2 separate regions of the Homo sapiens genome follow, and region 1 is linked to region 2. The links are contacts of gene promoters, found by promoter capture Hi-C in blood cells and fetal thymus (Javierre and others, 2016). All regions are on one chromosome and are shown on one strand. The core of a region is centred on a gene start or on the middle of the fragment in contact, and the rest is flanking DNA. Distances in the headings are between cores, read along the strand shown. Region 1 overlaps HELQ (helicase, POLQ like). Region 2 holds the start of HPSE (heparanase).

Evidence for each region. The method cuts DNA at HindIII sites, captures the fragments that hold promoters and counts their contacts. A CHiCAGO score of 5 or more calls a contact.
Region 1: a contact is called between a fragment that was not itself captured here and the fragment with the promoter of HPSE in region 2, in 1 of 17 cell types (megakaryocytes). The highest score is 5.9, in megakaryocytes.

What each region holds. Positions count from the first base shown.
Region 1 is chr4:83,443,976-83,450,267 of GRCh38, forward strand. HELQ (helicase, POLQ like) reads right to left here. Exons shown (of 18, transcript NM_133636.5): 3 at 4,808-4,986; 4 at 2,860-3,060; 5 at 2,039-2,111. Among named protein-coding and RNA genes, the nearest start is that of HELQ, 8.7 kb to the right of the region's middle. The HindIII fragment of the contact is 3,442 bases long and covers 1,928-5,369 here.
Region 2 is chr4:83,333,241-83,339,931 of GRCh38, forward strand. It overlaps HPSE (heparanase), which reads right to left and starts at 1,608. Exons shown (of 12, transcript NM_001098540.3): 1 at 1,316-1,608. The coding sequence starts at 1,542. The HindIII fragment of the contact is 2,644 bases long and covers 45-2,688 here.

The sequences.
Region 1 (6,292 bases), core at 2,399-4,898, 110 kb after region 2:
TCAAGGCTGCAGTGAGCCATGATTGTGTCACTGCACTGCAGCTTGGGCAACAGTGAGACCTGACCTCTTAAAAAAAGAAAACTACAAATATATTACCAGAGTATTAATCTGGCATTTGAAGAATGAAATTTTTCAGGTATCCTGAAAGTTACTACTTAGAAGTTTACAGAGTTTCAAACTTGGCAAGAACTAGGATATTAAGGCTTCTAAACAATAATAAATGAGTATAAATCTGCTTATAACTGTCTATCTGGATCCCCTTTACGAAGAGCTATGATATGTTCCACAGGTATGGCTATAGACAGATGTAGAGGTAGTAGGATAGAGGGCTAAATGCGTCTCGAACTCTTGGCCCATGAAAAGTCCTCTATGAGATCTTGCTATCAAGCTAACTTTTAATTTTATTTATTTATTTATTTTTTTGAGACAGAGTCTTGCTCTGTTGCCCAGGCTGGAGTGCAGTGGCATGATCTCGGCTCACTGCAACCTCCACCTCCTGGGTTCAAGCAGTTCTCCTTGCCCCAACCTCCCGAGTAGTTGGGACTATAGTTTTTGTTGATGTTGTTTTAAATAAAGGTGGAGTGAAGCTTATGAAGCCATATGACATCCTGGGCAATACAAAATGGCTGCTTTCTATAGACTTAACTATTGAATGAAAACCCAAATAGGCCTTCTTTGCAAATGTTTCTTCATTGCTCCTATGTCTTGAAATGATCATTCAAGAAACTCACTGAAAGAGGAATAAGTGGGAGTATCCTTCTCATTCCATAAGGATAGACTACAAAGCTGAAGAGGTGGGCATGGGGTCAAATCAAGAAAGGCTGTGCTAAGAAATTAGGGATTTATGCAGAAAGCAAAGGGGAGCTATTAAAGAATGGTAAACAGTAAAATAAACTAATTGGATTTGCATTTGGGAAAGATCATTCTTCTTGCGCTAAAGAAAGATGGATTTGGTGGATGAAGGGCAGTGGGTACACAGAAGAACTTGGTGATTTCTGTGGCAATCCAGGTAGAAAGGATGAGGTACTGAACTAAAGACTTAGTGGTAATGAGGGATAGGAGAGACAGAAGTAACAATATATTTATGAGGTAAACCAGATAGGATTTGGTTGCTGATAGAATATGTAGGACCCTGGCTTGGCTGGCTGGAGAGTGGTGGCTGAGAATTCAGGCTGAAGAACGGCTTTGAAGGAAATGAGTTTGGCTCAGACTAAGCCTTAGTTAGGCTTAGCTGTTCAGAGAATATTCAAATAGGGATGCCCTAAAATACAGGCTTGATGAAAGCAGGGACTATTTTATTCACTGCTGTATCCCTAGCACTTAAAATAGTGCCTAGCACACAGTAGGTGATCAATATTTTTTTGAATGAACAATTATAAAATGCTATAACCTGCTTAAATATTATTGCTGTTGAAATTTTTTAAATACTTTTTAAGATTTGACCTTTATAGTTAATTTTTCCATATATAAGGTAAATATTGCAATAGCATATCAATAGTAGGTTATGACATTTAGAATAAATTTTTCATAAACTTTAAAGACTACCTGATGCTGCAAAATAGCTCCTTAAACTGACCTATTTAAATGTATCGCTTTACAATATTATTATTATAATATTTATGTTATATGTATTATTATGGTGATGATGATGATGGCCACAGTAGCAGCAGCAAACCCTTACTGAATGCAGTGTGCTAAGCACTGCTGAATGCAATACATGTGTTAACTCACACTATCCTTACAACAATCCCATCAGGCTGGTACCATTATTATCCTTGTTTTACAGATAAAGAAACATAGAGGTTGAGGGATGTGCCTGGGCACACATAGCTAGTAAGTGGCGGATAATAATAGAGGACTTCTTCAAATACCAATTTCATTTACCTTCAAAATTCTATTCATTAGAAATTTTAAAACAAAGGCAAAAAGCTTAAGTATCTTGCTTTAGGTTACATACTGTAGCTAGTGATAGAATTAAGTATTTTATAAGTCTCTTGATTATAAATCAATTCATGACCTCATTTGAAAAAATACTTACTGCTAGTGTAGAGGATTTTTGCTAGGGTCATTTCCAGTGTAGCTCCACGGCTTCCTTCACCAATCATGTGCAACTTCGAGATTTTTTTTAAAAAGGACAGAGAAGTAAATCTTCATATAGTGCTCATATAAAACATGCATATATTCATATGAAATTTGTTTGTAAAGAGTTGCTTATAACTTTTAAGTATTTTGAATATAACAACTATAATACATGTATATTATTTCACTGGTATTTAGGTTAATGAGCTTTTGGTACAAAATCCTTATAAATCTGGGATTCATAAGTACTACTAAAAAAATTTTTTTTTTAAACGGAGTTTGGCTCTTGACCCCCAGGCTGGAGTGCAATGGCGTGATCCTAGCTCACTGCAACCTCCACCTCCTGGGTTACAGCGATTCTCCTGCCTCAGCCTCCCGAGTGGCTGGGATTACAGGCGCCCACCACCACGCCCGGCTAATTTTTGTATTTTTAGTAGAGACAGGGTTTCACCTGTTGGCCAGGCTGGTCTTGAACTCCTAACATCAAGTGATTCACCTGCCTCGGCCTCCCAAAGTGCTAGGATTACAGGCATGAGCCACCACGCCCAGCCAATAAAATTGTATACTACACACATACGTGTTCACACTTCAAGAAACACTTGACACAAAACCAAATTTAAGATTATCAAGCATAGAATGTCTTCACCTATATTGTCTATATTTTCAAATAAATTTATTTTTATAGAGGTACTAAGGTACTAAGTAGATCCACACAATAACCAGAATAATAAATATTTAGTATAATAAAAATATTGACAAATTACAAAAGTATTAACCAACCTCGTCTACAACAACCAGACCCAGACTGTCAATTCTTCCAGTTTCAATCAAGGAGTTCACCAAGCTATGTCCTTTTTCAATAGTGGCAATATAGAGTGATTTCTTTTCCCTTCTTTTAGTTGGAGGAAATCTTCCTTTGCTTCCAGCATATTCTTCAACAAAGAAACCGAGTTCTATACCAAAACTTGACAAACCTGAAATCTAGAATATTAGTTAAAATAAAGAAAAATTGGCCAGGCATTGTGGCCAATGCCTGTAATCCCAGTACCTTGGGAGGCTGAGGCGGGAAGATCACTTGAGCCCAGGAAGGTGAGACCAGCCTGGGCAACACAGTGAGACCTCATCTCTATAAAAAATAAAAAATTCGCTGGCTGTGGTGGCACAGGCCTGTAGTCTCAGCTACTTGGGAAGCTGAGGTGGGAGGACTGCCTGAGTCCAGAGAATTGAGGCTGCAGTAAGCCTTGGTCATGCCACTGCACTCCAGCCTGGGCGACAGAGCAAGACCCTGACTCAAAAATAAATAAATAAACAAAACCAAAAAACACAAGTAAAAAACCCCCCATTAGGTGCTCATGGGGTTCAAAAAAGCTAAAGTAGTGTTTAATACCCATCAACAGGAACAAGGTCACAGGCAAGACATACGTAAGAAATGCTGTAATGTCTCGATCTTTGCAAAATAAATGCAACTTCTAAAATACATGTGAAAATAAATTTCAACTGGCGCCTTTGATACCAAAAAGCATCAGGGGTGTGTTGGCTCATGCCTGTAATCTCAGCATTTTAGGAGGCTGAGGCAGGTGGATCACTTGAGGACAGGCGTTTGAGATCAGCCTGGCCAACATGGCGAGACATCATCTCTACCAAAAATAAAAAAATTAGCCGGGCGTGGTGGCGTGTGCTTGCGATTCTGGCTGCTGGGTGGGGTCGTGGGGCATGAGAATTACTTGAGTCTGGGAGGTGGGGGTTGCAGTGAGCTGAGATCATGCCACTGCACTCCAGCCTGGGTGATAGAGCAAGACTGTCTCAAAAAAAAAAAAAAAAGCATCAGAATAACTCATTTTAGTAATAGTTTCTGCTTGAAAAAGCAAGGTAAGGCCGGGCACAGTGGCTCACACCTGTAATCCCAGCACTTTGGGGGGCCGAGGTGGGAGGATCACTTTAGGTCAGAAGTTCGAGACCAGCCTGTCCAACATGATGAAAACCCATCTCTACTAAAAATACAAAAATTAGCCAGGCATGGTGGCACACACCTGCAATCCTAGCTACTTGGGAAGCTGAGGCAGGAGAATCACTTGAACCCAAGAGGCGGAGGTTGCAGTGAGCAGAGATTGTGCCACTGCACTCCAGCCTGGGCGACAGAGGGAGACTACATCTCAAAAAAGAAAAAGCAGGGTAAATAGTAATAGAACATTTAAGATGATGTTTAATCCACCAGTTTAGAAAAAGTAAAACTTTCAACAACTGGTAATTAGTATTTGAAGATATTTTAGGTAGTGTATACTGCTTTTATACATTCTAAAAATATTAATTCTCCATCATTAAGAGGTACTTCTCACCAGGCGCAGTGGCTCATGCCTGTAATACCAGCACTTTGGGAGGCTGAGGCGGGTGGATCACTGGAGATCAGGAGTTTGAGACCAGCCTGGCCAATATGGTGAAACCCCGCCTCTACTAAAAACACAAAAATTGGCTGGGTATGGTGGCATGGGCCTGTAATCCCAGCTACTCAGGAGGCTGAGGCAGGAGAATCGCTTGAACCTGGGAGGCGGAGGTTGCAGTGAGCCAAGATGGTGCCACTGCACTCCAACCTGGGTGACAGAGCAAGACTCCATCTCAAAAAAAAAAAAAAAGAGGTACTTCTCAACAATACAAAGTTATCACATTTACAGATCTTAACGTCAAAGTACTAGCAAATAACATTTGTTTTAAAACATACACACACACACACCTTTTCTTGGACAATTGCCACATATGGAAGAATCATTAAAACATCTTTCCGACAGCAAAGCAGTTCTTGCAGCATTAAAATCTCAGCCACGAGGGTTTTTCCACCACTTGTTGGCAAGGAATATATTAAATTTTTTCTTTCTTGCACAGAATTCAATGTTAAACAAGTATGTTGCCATTCTGTGGAATTAAAAAAAAAAAGGCATTATTTTCCCCTTCCAAACTTTGAAACTCAAAAGTTTTCTAAGAAAAAAAATCAAATCCCTTCCTGTGGAGCAATCCTCTCATAAGGATAAATTTAATTATAACCAATGTTACATGTCAAAAATCCCAAATGTGCAAGTAGTACAGCCAGTGAGAGCCTAGTTCAGGCCTAGGCAGCAAGGTGGGCAACCAGCCCATTTATTCACCAGCTGCAGACTTGGGTCCAATATTACAGCAGGGCAGGTAGCAGCCTCGTGGACAAGGAGTGCCATCTGAGATATCAGAGGAACAAAGGGACAGTACAAGGACCTGTGTGAATTCGAATGTCTTCCTCTTATGTTCTGCAAGGAGATTATATAAGCTTCCCTTCCTCATTCAGCCAAAAGCCATCTCAGAGAGAAGCAGGGGAAGGAGGGAAACAAATCTATTAGGTTTTACACAAACTAATAAAAACTTTAACTAGCTCTCATGGAGACCTGAACTTCGAATGGGTCCAAAACCATTTTAAACTGTTAAAACTCTTTAAACCACAAAAGACTAGGATTATTAACTGACACGCCTAGGATTCCCACAATTTGGCAAGGCGGGATTCATGAAAATAGATCAGATCCAAGATACCGTGTGAAAACTAGTATTAATTACTCTGTAGGATAATCTGACAATAAAAATCATCAGAAGTCTTTAAAAATGTGCTTCAGTGTTTTATCACTAGAAAAATGGGCAAAAAATTTAAGACATTTCACAGCAGACGGCAAATGGCCAATAAATACATGGCCAATAAGCAGCAGAAATGCAAATGGCCAATAAATACATGAGAAGATGCTCAGCTGTTCTCTACTGGGTTGGCAAAATAAATTTTTAAAATAAAAAACAAATAACTATCAAAAAAAAAAAAAGCCCCACACATGCAAAATCCAGAGCTGACTAATGTGGGGAAAAACAGCCATTTTCATGTACGGTTGTGAGAACATAAACTGCTAGAATCCTTGTGGAAAGTAACCTAGTATAAAATAGAACTGCACATTGCCTTTGATCTGGTAGTATTACTTTTGGGATTCTACATCTATAGAACGGAAGCCAAAGCATATAAAACACAGCATTGTTTGTAGGTAACAAAGTGCCATGGTGGTGGGGGTAAAGGCCGAATGAATTATTGTACAATCAACCAATGAGATTCTTTGCAGTTTAAAAATGAAGAATAGATGGATCTATGTATGTTCAATATACAGTTAAGTTTAAAAAAAAAAAAAAAAAAAAAAAAAAAAAAAAGCAGATCATTGCC
Region 2 (6,691 bases), core at 358-2,857:
CTCTTACCATATCATCAAATCCTCGGGCAATAATCCTTGAGGCAAGCTTGAGAAATTCCATTCTACAGCTGAAGAAATCAAGGTTGGTGTGGCCAAGAGATATGGAAAAACCAAGTCACTCATCTTTGCCAGAGCTGAGAGTCAAGCCAGGATGGTCTGTCCATCTCTTAACCAGTACACTACCCATTAAATTAGCGCTGGCAACTATAGTGTGGGCTCAGGGAGGACAGCATCTAGGTATTTGACACAGAGGTGAGATAATGGTGATCTTTCCCTCTATCTGGGCTGGTCAAGATGTGGCCATCTCTGGAGGCTCCCAGGGCCTAAATAAGAGGCCTAGAAGACCTGGGATTGTCCCTGTAGCTCCCCATCTTGGAGTCAGCCTGCATTCATGGGGCAGGAGCCCTGAACCTGCATCAGGTTCCTTCTTTCTCAGGTAAGGAAAAAACTTAGAGCTGATAAGGCAGCACCACATTTTGCAGCCCCATTTTGGAGAGACATCTTTTTATTAGGACTTTGTAAGTCACTGCAGTAGTCTCCTAGGTCTCATTTATTGAATATTTAGATTTTTATTCCTGTTCTGTGACGCCCTTTTCATCTGCCTAAAAAAAAAAAAAGAAAAGAAAAAAGAAAAAGAAAAGAAAAGAAAGAGAAATCTTCCTAACACAGTCTTAAATACAGAAGGCTATGCACAATCTTACTTGTCCTACACTGCACAGCAAATCAAGCACTCACAGGCCTTCAGGTGCACCTGCCTGGTTTCCCTCCTCTTGGCTAGGGAAGTACTGGGGCAAGTGGGCAGTTTCTTTTTCAAATTTCCACTTATACCTGACCTTAGGTGGTGCCTATTCAACACTTACAGAATGAATGAAACAAAAAGGCTCATTTAGAGTGGGCGCTAAACAATGTGTACACATGGACTTAGTGGAATAGTAGACACTGGAGACTCCAAAAGGTGGGAGGGTGGGAGAGGGATGAGGGATGAGAAATTACCTATTAGATACAATGTACAACATTCGGGTGACAGTTACACTAAGAGCCCAGATGCCACCACAATGCAATATACCCATGGAACAGAACTGCACTTGTAACCCCTAAATCTATTTTTTAAATGATACCCCCCAAAAAGCAGTTTGGGGTCTGAGAGTAAGGGAGGGAGAGGGAGAATGAGAGGCGGGAAGTGGGGTGGGGAGAGACAGGCGGGGAGGTTCCGGTGTGAAGTTGTTTCCGCGCAAAAGAAGGAGAGCGGCTGGCGGGGCAGACATAGGTGTCAGGAGGACAGGAAAGGGGACAGGACCAGGAGGCTGGCGCTTACCCCAGGAGGATGAGGAACCGCGGGTCCGTGGCCAGGTTGGCGTCAATGGTGACGGACAGGAACGAGGGGCTCACCAGGTGCAGCGGCTCCTGGGTGAAGAAGTCCAGGTCCACGACGTCCTGTGCTTGCGCAGGTCGGGGCAGGGCGCCAGGGGAGAGGGGACCCAGCGGCCCCAGGAGCAGCAGCATCAGCGGCGGCGGCAGCGCAGGCTTCGAGCGCAGCAGCATCTTGGGCTCACCTGGCTGCTCCCCCCGCCAGCTGCCGCGCAGCGGAGAGTCGAGAGCTCTAGCACTTCCTCCCGCCGAGCCCCAGCGCCCTTTTCTCCTTTCCTCCGCCCCGTTACGCCTCCTCACCCCTCCCACTGCGCCCTCCATCCCTCCCACTCCTCTTCTGCATCCCTCCCACTGCTCCCAATCCAACCCCGCCCCGCCTGCCCGGCTCTCTCCTACTTCCTTGCTCGCTTTCCCCTCGGTGGCGGTCACGTTCACTTACGAAATCACCCACACCCACTTGAAGGGTGCGGAGATGGCCGGGATCCAAGCGCCCGGGAGGCCTGGGGAGGAGCGCCCGGGGAGGAGCGCCCGGGGAGCAGCGCTGGGCATCCCGGACCAGGCTTCCTGACGCACGTGTTCTGCGCGCTCTCGTGGGAACCCAGCGTTTCCGACTCCCAGATCCCATTCTGATGGCGCCGGGTATCCCTCTGACCCTCGAGTAAAACCTCCAATGGAGTATTCATCCCTTCCTCTCCCATCTAGCTTATAAACACTTGCTTGTCACTTGAGCCAGCCAAAATCTGATTGTCCTCTGGCCAGGCAGTTTCTCAGGTATTTTACTTTTGCTTGAAAAAATCTGGCCTCAGCATACGCTAAACTGCAGCTGGAAAGAGATCAACCACCCAAAATTCTTTATCAACTTCTCATTAAGACAATATTTAGCAATCTTAAAGGGTTAGTTGCTCCAATGTCTGGAACTCAGGACCTGAAGCCCCCATACAAAGTGTAGAGTACGGACTGCCCCTGAATTTGGAGCCTTTGCCAAATTTCTCCTCTGCGCATTTATCTTTCGCTGTTGGTCAGACTTTTCTTCAGCTTTTCCTTGATGCTTACACTGATGTATAATCATAGCAAGCATCGCACGCTTAGTGCCTACTGTATGCCTGATACAGGTGCTTTACTTGTGTTCTCTTCCCTTCTCACAACCCTGCCAAGTGCATACTGTCCTTGTTTTACACATGCGGACCCAAGCTCTGAGACAGTAACTGGGTGAAGTGTCAGAATCGGGATGTGAAGTGTCAGAATCGGGATGTGAATGCAGTTACAAAACCTCGAGCAGATGGCAGTGTGTTTCAGCTGAAATGTAACTTCCCTCAAGGAAGCTTTCTCTCAATCTCCAGGCAGCTCTCCATGACACACTCTCATAGCATCCTCAATTTGTTAGACACTCTCGTAGCATCCTCAATTTGTTAGACACTCTCGTAGCATCCTCAATTTGTTAGTATTGTGATGTTGCTCAACATTGGCTTCATCTACTAGATTATATGCTCCACCAAAACAGAGATTAAGTTTGTCTCACACGCTATGCTAGCCATAGCTCAGGCATGTGATCATGTTGGTGCTTAGTAAGAGTCTAATAAATATTGGTTGAGTAAGCAAATAACACCAAAACCCTTAGATTTTTCCACTTGAGATTGTACCACCAATAAGGCAACAAATAAAAATAGATTATTTTGAAATGCATATCTAATTTGCATAAATCAGGCCAGGCATGGTATGTGATGCCAGTGATGCCATCATGCCTGTGATGCCAGCATTTTGGGAGGCCAAGGTGGGAGGATTGCTTGAGCCGAGGAATTCAAGAACAGCCTGGGCAACATGATGAAACCCCATCTCTACAAAAAATACAAAAAATTAGCCAGGCGTGGTGGCCCGTGCCTGTGGTTCCAGCTACTGGGGAGGCTGAGGTGGGAGGTTTATTTGAGCCTGGGAGGTGGAGGTTGCAGTGACCCTTAATCACACCACTGCACTCCAGCCTGGGTGACAAAGTGAGACCCTCTCTTAAAATAATAATAATAATTATCATTATTTGCATAGATCTACCTATTCTTAAGCAACTTAAAAGCTAAGCTCATAGTGAGTTTTGCAACTAGAATCAGGTTCATATCCTACAATTACTGTATACATATGAAAAAAAATTCACACATAAACACCACACTACCAGAAGAGTGTAATAATATGGTAGCAGACGTGGAGTTGGAAAAACAGAAGTTTCTTTTCCACATTTGTCATGACATTAATCTTACACCCCACCCCATGCCCCTGACTCCTGTTGTGAGTCAACAGTCATACCAATTTCTTTCTTTTTTTTTTTTTTTGAGACGGAGTCTCGCTCTGTCGCCCAGGCTGGAGTGCAGTGGCACCATCTCGGCTCACTGCAAGCTCTGCCTCCTGGATTCACGCCATTCTCCTGCCTCAGCCTCCCGAGTAGCTGGGACTACAGGGGCCTGCCATCACCCCCGGCTAATTGTTTTGTATTTTTAGTAGAGATGGGATTTCACCATGTCTGTCAGGATGGTCTCAATCTCCTGACCTCGTGATCTGCCCGTCTCAGCCTCACAAAATGCTAGGATTGCAGGCATGAGCCACTGTGCCATGCCCAGTCATACCAATTTCTTTAACATGTTTGGGTGATTTGAAAAGTGGACCATTGCAAGTTTTCTAAATAGTGCATCCTTGTGGTCTACATGTGAGTTACTAATATGGAAACGGGGGGCCGGGTGTGATGGCTCACACCTGTAATCCCAGCACTTTGGGAGGCCAAGGCGGGTGGATCACTAGAGCCCAAGAGTTCAAGACCAGCCTGGGCAACATGGTGTAGCCAGGAGTGGTGGCGCAGACCTATAATCCAAGCTACTCAGGAGGCTGATGCATAAGAATTGCATGGGAGGCAGAGATTGCAGTGAGCCAAGATCATGCCGCTGCACAATGGGAGACAGAGCAAGACCCTGTCAAAAAAAAAAGAAAAAAAAGAAAAAGAAAAGAAACTGGGAAAACAAAAACGAGGGGGCAGAGAAGCAATTTGCACACATGATGATCTGTTGGCTGAGATCTTGCTCCTGCTTCTAATTTGGTTTGATTTACAATGTCTGATAAGGATGTATGATATGGATACATAGGAAGGAGGAACATATAGGAATATTAATAGGAACTATCATTTCAGAGATATTTTATAATAAGACACCTTAATTTTTATAGCAAGTTACAGCTACATACATCCTAGCTAGAGCCCTTTTTCATACATCTTAGCCCTGCAGCTTGATGGGATGTACAATCTTGGGCCAGATCGTCAATTTCCAAGAGCCTCAATTTCTTCATCTATATAGTAGGGGTAATAATACATATTTCATAAGATTTTTTTTTTTTGAAACAGGGTCTCACTCTGTCACCCAGGTTGGAATACAGTGATGTGATCTTGGCTCACTGAAACCTCCACCTCCACACTCAAGCAATCCTCCCACCTCAGCCTCCCAAGTAGCTGGGACCACAGGTGTGCCCCACCATGCCCTGTTAATTTTTTGCATTTTTGGTAGAGATGGGGTTCCTCCATGTTGCCCAGGCTGGTCTCAAATTGCTGAGCTCAGAGATCCACCCACTTATGCTTCCCAAAGTGCTGGGATTATAGGCATGAGCCACCATGCCTGGCCCATAGTCTTTTTTTAAAGAATTAATTGACAATAATGTAACACAGCTAGCTCCATCTACAATGTGAGGTATGTGTTTAACAGATGAGAGATTATTTTTTAAAAAATTATTACCCCCACTTAATCTTTGCAATAACCTTGTAAAGTAGATTTACAGCTTTCTGATTCCAAGCCCAGAGTTTTTCCACTACCTCACGCAGATTTAGGGACTCACAAATTATGTGATGAAAATGATTTAGAAATAAAAAACTTTAAATGAACTAGAAAGTTTATGTGAACGCTTTATTAATTATGGGGCTGGGTGCAGTGGCTCACACCTGTAATCCCAGTGCTTTGGGAGGCTGAGGAGGGAGAATCGCTTGGGCCCAGGAGTTTGAAACCAGCCAGGGCAACATAGCAAGATCCCATCTCTAAAAAAAAAAAAAATGTTTTTTAATTAGCTGGATGTGGTGGCATGCACTTGTAGTACCAGCTACTTCACAGGCTAAGGTGGGAAGCTTGCTTGAGCCCAGGAGATAGAGACTGCAGTGAGCCATGATCATGCCACTGCACTCCAGCCTGGACAACAATGTGAGACTCTGTCTCAAAAAATATTAATAAATAAAAAATAAATGCATAAAAATACAAAAAATAATTATCATGTGATCTCATTTCCATGTGGTCTGTGGATTGATTTTCAGTACTGGCATTGGGTTTTTAGGGATTCACACAAGGTTTACCTGGTCAACAATTACAAACACTTGTAAAACAACAGACTGATTTCAGGATATTTTCAGAAAATGATAATCTTATCACTTGTCTGTTTAGAAAATTAAGACTTTTCTAATGTAGAAATCTCTGAATGTGGGCAAACTTTTAGGCATTTGTAGTTATCTCCGGGCAAATAAATAGTTACAAATGTGTTGTTTTGAGTTATTGGGTTATGACTTTCTAAAGTTAAGTTTTGCTTTTAATTATTTGCCAATCAAACTGTATTTCAAAGCAAGGAGAAATTAAGAGAAAATTTTTGCTGAATGGTGAAAGGAAGGAAGTTAACATCTATTGCATGCATGGTGTTCTACAATGTGCTTTCACATATTCGTTTATTCATCTATTCATTCAAGTAGTTATTGGGCACCTACTATGTACCAAGCACTGAGCTAGGCAACTGTAAGCAGCAAGCAGGGATTGTTCCTGTGCTCTGAAGTCTTACTGGGGAAGTAGAAGGTATTTTAAAAATCACAGGATGGTGGTGGCTCACGCCTGTAATCTCACTGCTGAGGCAAGTGGATCACTTGACTCCAAGAGTTCAAGACCAGCGTTAGCAACATAGTGAAACCCCGTATCTTCCCAAAATACAAAAAATTAGCTGGCATGGTGGCATGTGCCTGTGGTCCCAGCTACTCAGGAGGCTAAGTCAGGAGTATTGCTTGAGCCCGAGAGGCAGAGTTTGCAGTGACCCAAGATTGCGCCATTGCACTCCAGCCTAGGCAACAGAGACAGACTCTGTTTCAAAATAATAATAATAATAATAATAATAATAATAATAATAATAATAATGAATTTAAAAATATCACGCAAAAGTGAAATTGCAAGTGTGGTAGGTGCTCCAAAGGTGATCATGGTGCTTTACGTGTGTATGAGGTAGAATTTCGATTTGGGGGGAGGGGCCATTGAGGATGTGACACTTAAGATCTGAA